2 separate regions of the Homo sapiens genome follow, and region 2 is linked to region 1. The links are contacts of gene promoters, found by promoter capture Hi-C in blood cells and fetal thymus (Javierre and others, 2016). All regions are on one chromosome and are shown on one strand. The core of a region is centred on a gene start or on the middle of the fragment in contact, and the rest is flanking DNA. Distances in the headings are between cores, read along the strand shown.

Evidence for each region. The method cuts DNA at HindIII sites, captures the fragments that hold promoters and counts their contacts. A CHiCAGO score of 5 or more calls a contact.
Region 2: a contact is called between a fragment that was not itself captured here and the fragment with the promoter of GINS3 in region 1, in 3 of 17 cell types (non-activated CD4 T cells, naive CD4 T cells and activated CD4 T cells). The highest score is 9.8, in non-activated CD4 T cells.

The regions. Positions count from the first base shown.
Region 1 is chr16:58,391,208-58,395,705 of GRCh38, forward strand. It overlaps GINS3 (GINS complex subunit 3), which reads left to right and starts at 1,264. Exons shown (of 3, transcript NM_022770.4): 1 at 1,264-1,580. The coding sequence starts at 1,395. RefSeq lists enhancers at 903-1,480, 1,087-1,576, 1,481-2,057, 4,086-4,498. The HindIII fragment of the contact is 2,062 bases long and covers 32-2,093 here.
Region 2 is chr16:81,097,048-81,101,835 of GRCh38, forward strand. It overlaps the pseudogene PKD1L2. Among named protein-coding and RNA genes, the nearest start is that of GCSH, 3.0 kb to the left of the region's middle. The HindIII fragment of the contact is 2,961 bases long and covers 204-3,164 here.

The sequences.
Region 1 (4,498 bases), core at 14-2,513:
ATGGGCGAAGCAGGGAAGGGAAGTCTGAACAAGCTTAGGATTGAATAATTTGAATAATGTTGGCAAGCTCTGGGATATAGAGGTGAATTTTAGTTGTCTGGTACTTGGCCATGGGGTGGTTTATTACAGTGACTTGGGGCAGGGAAAATATTGGTGTGTGAGATGGATAAAGATGGTGTGGGGATATAGGCTTGGGTTGGTTGGTTTGTAAATGAAAGGGGTGTTCACAAGCAAGTTGTTTGCTATCTCTAGGAATTAGCTAACTCTGAAAGGGGCAATTCCTCCCCAGGTCCCCAAGGCCCCAAGATGTCAAAGCATCATAAAATACAGAAAACAGAAACTAAAATCCATGGTTAATACACACCTCCCTTCACACACACCCTTTACTCCCGGCTCCAGTAGCCCCAGAAATGCTCTAGACGAAGTAAGTTCTGTAGTGCATCTCTCAACAATATGCCGCCACCCATAGCCCTGGCTGAGGAGAGCCACCAAACCTGGTACTATGCGACCATGGTCCTTCCCCTGGTCACTGGATAGTGATCGCACCCAACACAGGCACCCCCATCTACAGGGTGGCTGGAGATCTATGACCATTGTGGCGTACCTGGACCAATCAATAAACTGGACCAATTGGATTTCCATTTTTAGGGATTTAAATTCAGAGCCACAAAAGGAGATTGTCAGTTGATGATGAGCTAAGACACCCTGAAGTATACTCACAACCTTAGCAAGCCATGTGCAGTCTAGTGCTCCACCCCTCTACCCACCCCGTCCAACCCCCACCAAAATACTAACAAAATACAACACACTAGTTCATCATCTAGACCATAATAACTCGCTGGGGATAGTGCTGGAAGTTTTTGTTTGTTTAACATTTCTTTCAAATACTAAGATTAACGGAGTTGCATAGTGAAAAAAACTGTAGGAAAGGGTCGGACTTAGGCCTGGAGTGAAGGGCACAAGATGCTTTTATTTTAAACCCCTAAAAGTGTTGCAAAGTGTTTTTAATTTCATATAAATAGTTAAGGATCACATGAACACAATCCAGTACAAATGGGTCCAGGAGCTTCAACGAGCGTTCCAGCTTCTTCGTAACGTTCCCACACCGTGCAGCAAGCGGAGGGAAGAGAACTTCCGGCGCCCCCACCTACCGCTCCCCAGCCGTGTCCCGCTGCTCTAAATCTGCAGACTTGATCGATTGCTTCTGCCTGGGCGGTACCGCCCGAATTGACTGCTCCTGTCTGATGCGTCCCCGGGCGCGGGAAACGAGTTTCAATCCACTTTCCTGACCCCAACCATCCTGCCCAGTCTCCGCTTCCCCGTCTTGTACACCCCTAACTCCTGAGGCTCCTCCGAATCACGCGAGTGGAAGCGGAGAAGCTCAAGTGGCCGCCATGTCAGAGGCTTATTTCCGAGTGGAGTCGGGTGCGCTGGGGCCTGAGGAGAACTTTCTTTCTTTGGACGACATCCTGATGTCCCACGAGAAGCTGCCGGTGCGCACGGAGACCGCCATGCCTCGCCTTGGCGCTTTCTTCCTGGAGCGGAGCGCAGGCGCCGAGACTGACAACGCGGTCCCACAGGTGAGCCTTTGGGTGCGGGGTCCTGCCCGGAAAGACTGCAGCTCCCGGCGGGCCCCTCGGCCCTGGGACGCCGCATCGGGGCGCGCTGCCCTTTGGGATTTGTAGTTTTCGAGGAGCCAGGGCCGAAGGCGCTAACGACTTCTCGGAAACTCCGCGGGGGTCCCTTCGCGCTCGGGGTGGTCTCCAGACTTCTTGTTCGCCATCTGTGGTGAAACTACATTTATCCTAGGTCGCCAGGCAGCCTCCAACATTGATTTCTTTTTTGAAACTGTCCAAATTAGTGTCTTCCCCCTACCCCATGCAACGTGTGTTGAATGCTTAAAGATTGGCTCCAGCTGAATACTTAAGAATTAGAGTTCTGATCATGTTTGCCTTAAAACAGCTTTGGGTTCTGTAAGAGCATGTGATAAGTAGGAACCCCAAGTTGCTAAATTCATTCCTCCATAATGATGACAGGATCAGTAAGCCCTACTGAGGCTTACTTAGTGGCAGCATGGTTGGGTGTGGGGAGTAAGCTTTTCCCTTTAATCCTTCAGCAACCAGAAAGGCTGGGTCACTTGGCCAGGGCTTCAGTTAGTGGTGAGCTGGGATTCGGAACCCAAGGCCATATGGCTTCAAATATAAAATTGTCCCAGGAACATGGCTTGTAATGATTAATTTGGATATCCTGTTTCACCTAAGTTTTGTATAGAACGATGTTTATTGTTTGGTCTGTTTGTTTCAAGTTAATTTTTATCAAAGTAATACATAACCAACGTTTTAAAAGTCAAATAGGCCGGATGCGGTGGCTCACGCCTGTAATCCCAGCACTTTGGGAGGCTGAGGCGGGCGGATCACGAGGTCAAGAGATCCAGACCATCCTGGCCAACATGGTGAAACCCCATCTCTACTAGAAAGCTGGGTGTGGTGGCCGGCGCCTGTAATCTCAGCTACTCTGGAGGCTGAGGCAGGAGAATTTCTTGAACCCAGGAGGCAGAGGTTGCAGTGAGCCGAGACTGTGCCACTGCACTCCAGCCTGGCGACAGAGTGAGACTCCATCTCAAAAAAAAAAAAAAAAAAAGTCAAATAGTACCAAAAGATTTATAAGAAAAAAAATAGCAGGTCCTGCCTTCCTTTTCCCACTTCCCCCTCCAAGTCCACAGGGCTCATGTACCTTTTTTAGTGGTGTCTTCAAGATTCATCTTCATATTTCTAAATAATATTCTTAAACTTACCTTGTTGGGTTGTTTTTTTTAATGTAGACATTATCTGTTGACTTCATCCTAGCAGATGAGGATTTCGTTCCCATACACACTGGTAAACATGGCGCTATGCTGCCCATACTTAATTCATATTTCCTTAGTTTTTAGTTAATGCCCTTTTTCTATTCTAGGATTCCACCTAGGATACCACACTGCATTTAGTAGACATGTTTCCTTAGCCTTCTCTTGGTTGTGACAATTAATCAGACCTCCTTGTTCTAATGACCTCGACGGTTTTGTGGAGTGGTGGTCAGGTATTTTGTAAAATGTTCCTCAGTTGGAAATCTTTGGTTTGGGGGTAGTTTTGTTTTTGGTTTTGTTTTTTTGTTTGTTTTTTTGACACGGAGTTACCCTGTCATCTAGGCCAGAGTGCAGTGGCATAATCTCAGCTCACTGCAGCCTCCTCCACCTCCTGGGTTCAAGCAATTCTGCCTCAGCCTCCCAAGTAGCTGAGATTACAGGCGCCCACCACCACACCCAGCCAATTTTTGTATTTTTAGTAGAGATGAGGTTTCACCAGGTTGGCCAGGCTGGTCTGGAACTCCTGACTTCAAGTGATCCACCCAACTCAGCCTCCCAAAGTACTGGGATTACAGGCGTAAGCCACCTCGCCCAGCCTTCTTTGTTTTTGTTTTTTATTCTTTTTTTCTCAGCATTAGACTTGATTATCAGCTTTAGGGAGGAAGACCACAGAGGTAAAGTGCCATTTTCATCACATATTAAGGGTGCCTACTATCAACAGGACTTTGTACTGTTCATTTGAACCTTGGCAGAGGTAATGTTCATTAGGTTTCTCCACCTTTTCATACTGTACTCTTTGGATGGAAGTCATTATCACTGTCACACTGAAGGAGTAGGGAGTTATGTTCCACTTCTTTGAGTGCAGAGTGTCTACATTAAATCTTTAGAATCCTTCTGCATGGGAGATTTGTGTAGGAAGGTTTGTATGACATTTAATTTCATTTATAGGATTATTCAGACTTGATTTCTTCTTGTGTTAGTTTTGGTATATTTGGTTTTTAACTAAAACTTTGACCATTTTATCTAATTTTTTTTTTTTTTTTTTGAGACAGGGTTTTGCTCTGTTGCCCAGGCTGGAGTGCAGTGGTGTGATATGGCTCACTGCAGCCTTGACCTCCCAGGCTCCAGAGATCCTCCCACCTCAGCCACCTATGTGGCTGGTATTGCAGGTACATGCCACCATGTCCAGCTAATTTTTGTATTTTTTTTTTGTCTAAATTTTCTTTTTTTTTTTTTTCTATTTGTACATTTGAAATTCTTCTGTAATATTTGTATATATATATATATATTTTTTTTTTAATTGATCATTCTTGGGTGTTTCTCGCAAAGGGGGATTTGGCAGGGTCACAGGACAATAGTGGAGGGAAGGTCAAGCAGATAAACAAGTGAACAAAGGTCTCTGGTTTTCCTAGGCAGAGGACCCTGCGGCCTTCCGCAGTGTTTGTGTCCCTGGGTACTTGAGATTAGGGAGTGGTGATGACTCTTAACGAGCATGCTGCCTTCAAGCATCTGTTTAACAAAGCACATCTTGCACCACCCTTAATCCATTCAACCCCTGAGTGGACACAGCATATGTTTCAGAGAGCACAGGGTTGGGGGTAAGGTCACAGATCAACAGGATCCCAAGGCAGAAGAATTTTTCTTAGTACAGAACAA
Region 2 (4,788 bases), core at 434-2,933, about 23 Mb after region 1:
CGTTGGGTCCAGTTGGTTTTAGCCAGGTTGACCCACACCCTGGTTTTTCAGGGTCTTAGCCCATAGCTTGTGCAGCTATTTCAACAGTTTCCTTTTGTTAGACAGAACTGCAGCCTGGAAGTTTCTATTCTCCTTCAACTGCTCTGTAACGTTCCTGTCTCAAAGAGCCCCAGGGACCCCAAACAGGACCGGCAGAATCCAGAAGCTTACTTAAAAAGGAATAAAGACTTGTCCAAGGGTCATAAGTGGCTTCTTGGTGGAGACTGGACCCAAGCCAGTCACTAATGCAGAAATATTCAAAACGCAGAGAGCTGAGACCCAGTGTGCACAATTCCTTGTTTCATCGGCCAGCGGTGTGACCAAGGCCTTCCGAGAAAAGCCGAAGTCATCATCCCAATCCAAGAAGTCAGAAAAAAATTAGGTTCTGGGAAAAACCTCACCTTTAACACAGATTTTATGGAGTGGCCATGAGTCAGCAAAGAAATACTGTTCTGAAAAACACCTTAAGCTACACACACACCTTTAGTACTGTTACAGAAAGGGCTCCCAATCCAGACCCCAAGAGAGGGTTTTTGGACCTCATGCAAGAAAGAATTTGGGGAGAGTCTATAAAGTGAAAGCACGTTTAATAGAGAAGTAAAGAAAAAAAAGAATGGCTTCTTCGTAGACAGAGCAGCAGTATGGCTTCTCGACTAAGTGTACTTATAGTTATTTCTTGATTGTATGCTAAACAAGGGGTGGATCATTCAAGAGTTCTCCAGAAAAGGGGCAGGGATTTCCTAGAACTAACGGTTCCTCCGCTTTTTGGACTATAGGGTAACTTCTCTGGACGTTGCCATTGCATTTGTGAACTGTCATGACGCTGGTGGGAGTTGTTTTTTTTTTAACATGCTAATGCATTATAATTAGCGTATAATGAGCAGTGAGACCTACCAGAGGTCGCCATCTTGGTTTTGGTGAGTTTTGGCCAGCTCCTTTACCGCATCCTATTTTATCAGCAGGGACTTTGTGACCTGTATCTTGTGCCAACCCTAGCTCATCCTGTGACTAAGTGAGGCAGGTGAATCACTTGAGGTCAGGAGTTCGAGACCAACCTGGCCAACATGGAGAAACCCCCGTCTCTACTACAAATCCAAAGTTTAGCCAGGCATGGTGGCAGGTGCCTGTAATCCCAGCTACTCAGGAGGCTGAGGCACGAGAATCACTTGAGCCTGGGAGGCAGAGGTTGCAGTGAGTCGAGATCACGCCACTGCACTCCAGCCTGGGTGACAGAGCGAGACTCTGCTTCAGAAAAAAATACAAATAAAAAGAATGCCTAACCTCCTGGGAATGCAGCCCACCAAGTCTCAGCCTCATTTTACCCAGCCCATATTCAAAATGGAGTTGTTCTTGTTCAAACACCGGAAACAGTACCATAGGGTGCACACCATGGAGTGTGTGTGTGTTTGGGGAGCCCATACGTTGTTGCACTGAGCTTCTGCCCTGCTATGAACTTAGGGTTGCCACCACATCTGTGCAGTGGCTTGCAAGGGCCGTCATGCCCACTTTCTTTTGAGCAAATCATTCCCATCTATTGAGCCTTTGCTATGTGCCTGGCACTATGCACACATCTTTTTAATCCTCTCCAAACCTCTTTCTGGCAGGTGTTACACTCATTTCATAGATGAGGCTCAGAGGTGAAGGCACTTCCGAGGAGTGGGATCGGGGAGGCGTTTTTGTGGCTTAAGTAGCTCCTAGGTGGCAGTAGTAGACCTTGGCCTCTACACTGATTAGAAAGCAACTCTTCTTTTTTTCTTTTTTTTTTTCGAGACGAAGTCTAGCTCTGTCGCCCAAGCTGGAGCGCAGTGGCGTGATCTTGGCTCACTGCAACCTCTGCCTCCCGGGTTCAAGCAATTCTCCTGCTTCAGCCTCCCGAGTGGCTGGGACTACAGGACCACGTGCCACCACGCCCGTCTAATTTTTGTATGTTTAGTAGAGATGGGGTTTCACTATGTTGGCCAAGCTGGTCTCGAACTCCTGACCTTGTAATCCACCCACCTCGGCCTTCCAAAGTGCTGGGATTACAGGCATGAACCACCGTGCCTGGCCAGCAATTGCTCTTAAGCTCTGCTCCGCTTGCTTTCGTTTGGGATGCTGACTGGATCACGCTGGTCTACCCTGCACTACAGATCTTGGCTACCTTCTCTAATGTCAAGATGTTGTTTTCTATTGTTGTTTCATTACAAGACAGTGCAGCATCGTGCCACTTACACCCTAACATATTTATTCTCAGCTTCACTAACTCATGTGATGGGAAGAAAAAGATCACACATCAACATCAACATATGGGCTACAAAAAGGCCCTTCCACCAAAAAATATGACATGTGTTTTTCTTTTGGTAAAAAGCATTGAAGACAGTCAAAATTTTTTTTCTTTTTCTACCTAGTAATCTTTGTAACCTCCTGGTTTGAGATTTTAAAGGTCATCTCGTTGCCCATTGAGTATAAGCTCTGGAAAATTCCAGGTGGTCATTTCTTCCAGGTGTTTTGAGAGGGGCCCATTCATCTCTTTGAGCTGATAGACATATTTTCCTCTTATAACAATACAGTAGACTGGGTGCGGTGGCTCATGCCTGTAATCCCAGCACTGTGGGAGGCCTAGGTAGGCAGATCACTTGAGGCCAGGAGTTCAAGACCAGCCTGGCCAACATGGTGAAACCCCGTCTCTACAAAAAAATACAAAAATTACCCAGGCATGCTCTTGTGTGCCTGTAGTCCCAGATACTGGGAAGCCTGAGACACAAGAATCATTTGATCTTGGGAGGCAGAGGTTTCAGTGAGCTGAAATCATGCCACTGCATTCCAGCCTGGGCAACAGAGCAAGACCCTGTCTCAAACAAACAAACAAACAAACAAAAAAACTTTTATAAACCAGTATTCCCCATATTTATTTGACCCAGAAACATTTTTGGAGGAATGACACCTGTTCTGGTTTGAATTGTGGCTCCTAAAGAGGTATGTCAAAGTCCTAAGTCCCAGTTCTTCAGATGTGACCATATTGGGAAACAGGATCCCTGCAGATGTATTATAATTAGTTCAGATGAGGTCACCCTGGACTAGGGTGGGCCCCTAATTCAATATGGCTGGTGTGCTGAGAAAAGGAGAAGGAACACAGGCTCCCAGCAAGCTTCTTCCCATCTGGGAGTGACACATCTAGAAGCCAAGGGACACCAAGGCTGGCTGGCCAACACCAAAAGCTGGAAGAGGCAAGAAGGATTCTTCCCTAGAGCCCTCAGAGGGAGCATGGCACTGCCAACATCTTTTTTCTTTCTTTTCTTTTTTTTTTTTGTGAGACGGAGTCATGCTCTGTCGCCCGGGCTGGAGTACAGTGGCACCACCTAGGCTCACTGCAACCTCCGCCTCCCGGGTTCAAGGGATTCTCCTGCCTCAGCCTCCTGAGTAGCTGGGACTACAGGCGCCCGCCACCACACCTGGTTAATTTTTGTATTTTTAGTAGAGACAGGGTTTCACCCTGTTGGCCAGGCTGGTCTCGAACTCCTGGCCTCAAGTGATCCGCACGCCTCGGCCTCCCAAAGTGCTGGGATTACAGGCGTGAGCCACCATGCCCGGCCACTGCCAACATCTTGATTGCACACTTCCAGGCTCCAGAGCTGGGACAGAATGCATTTCTGTCGTTTTAAGCCACTTCGTTTGTGATACATTGTTCTGGGAAACTAATACAGCATCCATTAGCATCTCTCAGACAGTTTGAGAAGCCCTGAACTAGAATCATTCAAAAGCAACCCCCAACGGACTAAAAAGACGAAATAATTAGTCTGTGCAGGAAATTTTCCAAACTCCATGTAATATTTGTTTTATTTATAATAAGAGGAAATACATTTGAACAAAGAAGCTCTCATAGTATTGGCAATTTTACATATATCTCTGTTATTGTAATTTTTTTTACTTGCTGGGCTTGGTAATTCTTCAATGGACATGAAAGCTATGACCTAGAGAGACTATAGAGTCGCTGGTAAGCGTACGCCCGAGGCCCTGGGCGTCCCCACTGGTAGATGGTGGCGTGTGGACGAACAGCTTAGTCCTTGGGCAAAGCTTGTGCTGGTCGAGAGTGGCGAGTCTGGGACAGAGACCCAGGCTGCTCCCTGCTGCTTCCAGGCTCCTCTCTCTTAGACTTAATGCCCAGGAAACTGAGTATTTTCATCAGCAGCAAATCTACGATCTCCCCTTCCTCCGACAGCTGCAAGAGAAAGAACCAGGCAATGCCCATAGAACCATCTTCTTTGGGGGCTTTTCTTTCTAAGGGGAAGTCATAGTTTTTATTTTTATTTATTTTATTTTATTTTATTGTTTGAGATGGAGTCTCACTGTGTCGCCCAGGCTGGAGTGCAGTCGCACAATCTTGGCTCACTGCAACTTCCGCCTCCCGAGTTCAAGCGATTCTCCCGCCTCAGCCTCCCGAGTAGTTGGGATTACAGGCACCCGCCACCACGCTCAGCTAATTTTTGTATTTTTAGTAGAGAGAGAGTTTTACCATGTTGGCCAGGCAGGTATCAAACTCCTGGCATCTAGTGATCCACCTGCCTCGGCCTCCCAAAGTGCTGGGATGATTACAGGCTTGAGCCATCGCATCATCCCTGGCCGAAATCACAGTTTTATTGTCCAGTTTGGTCTCAACCTAGGTTACTTCACTGTTGAGAGCTGTTTTAGGGCAGAAAGGCCTCCCTCTGGGAATGCCAAGGGTGTGTGCTCCATCCTTTATCCTCAGCGGGCTCCCTCCACCTCTCTGAT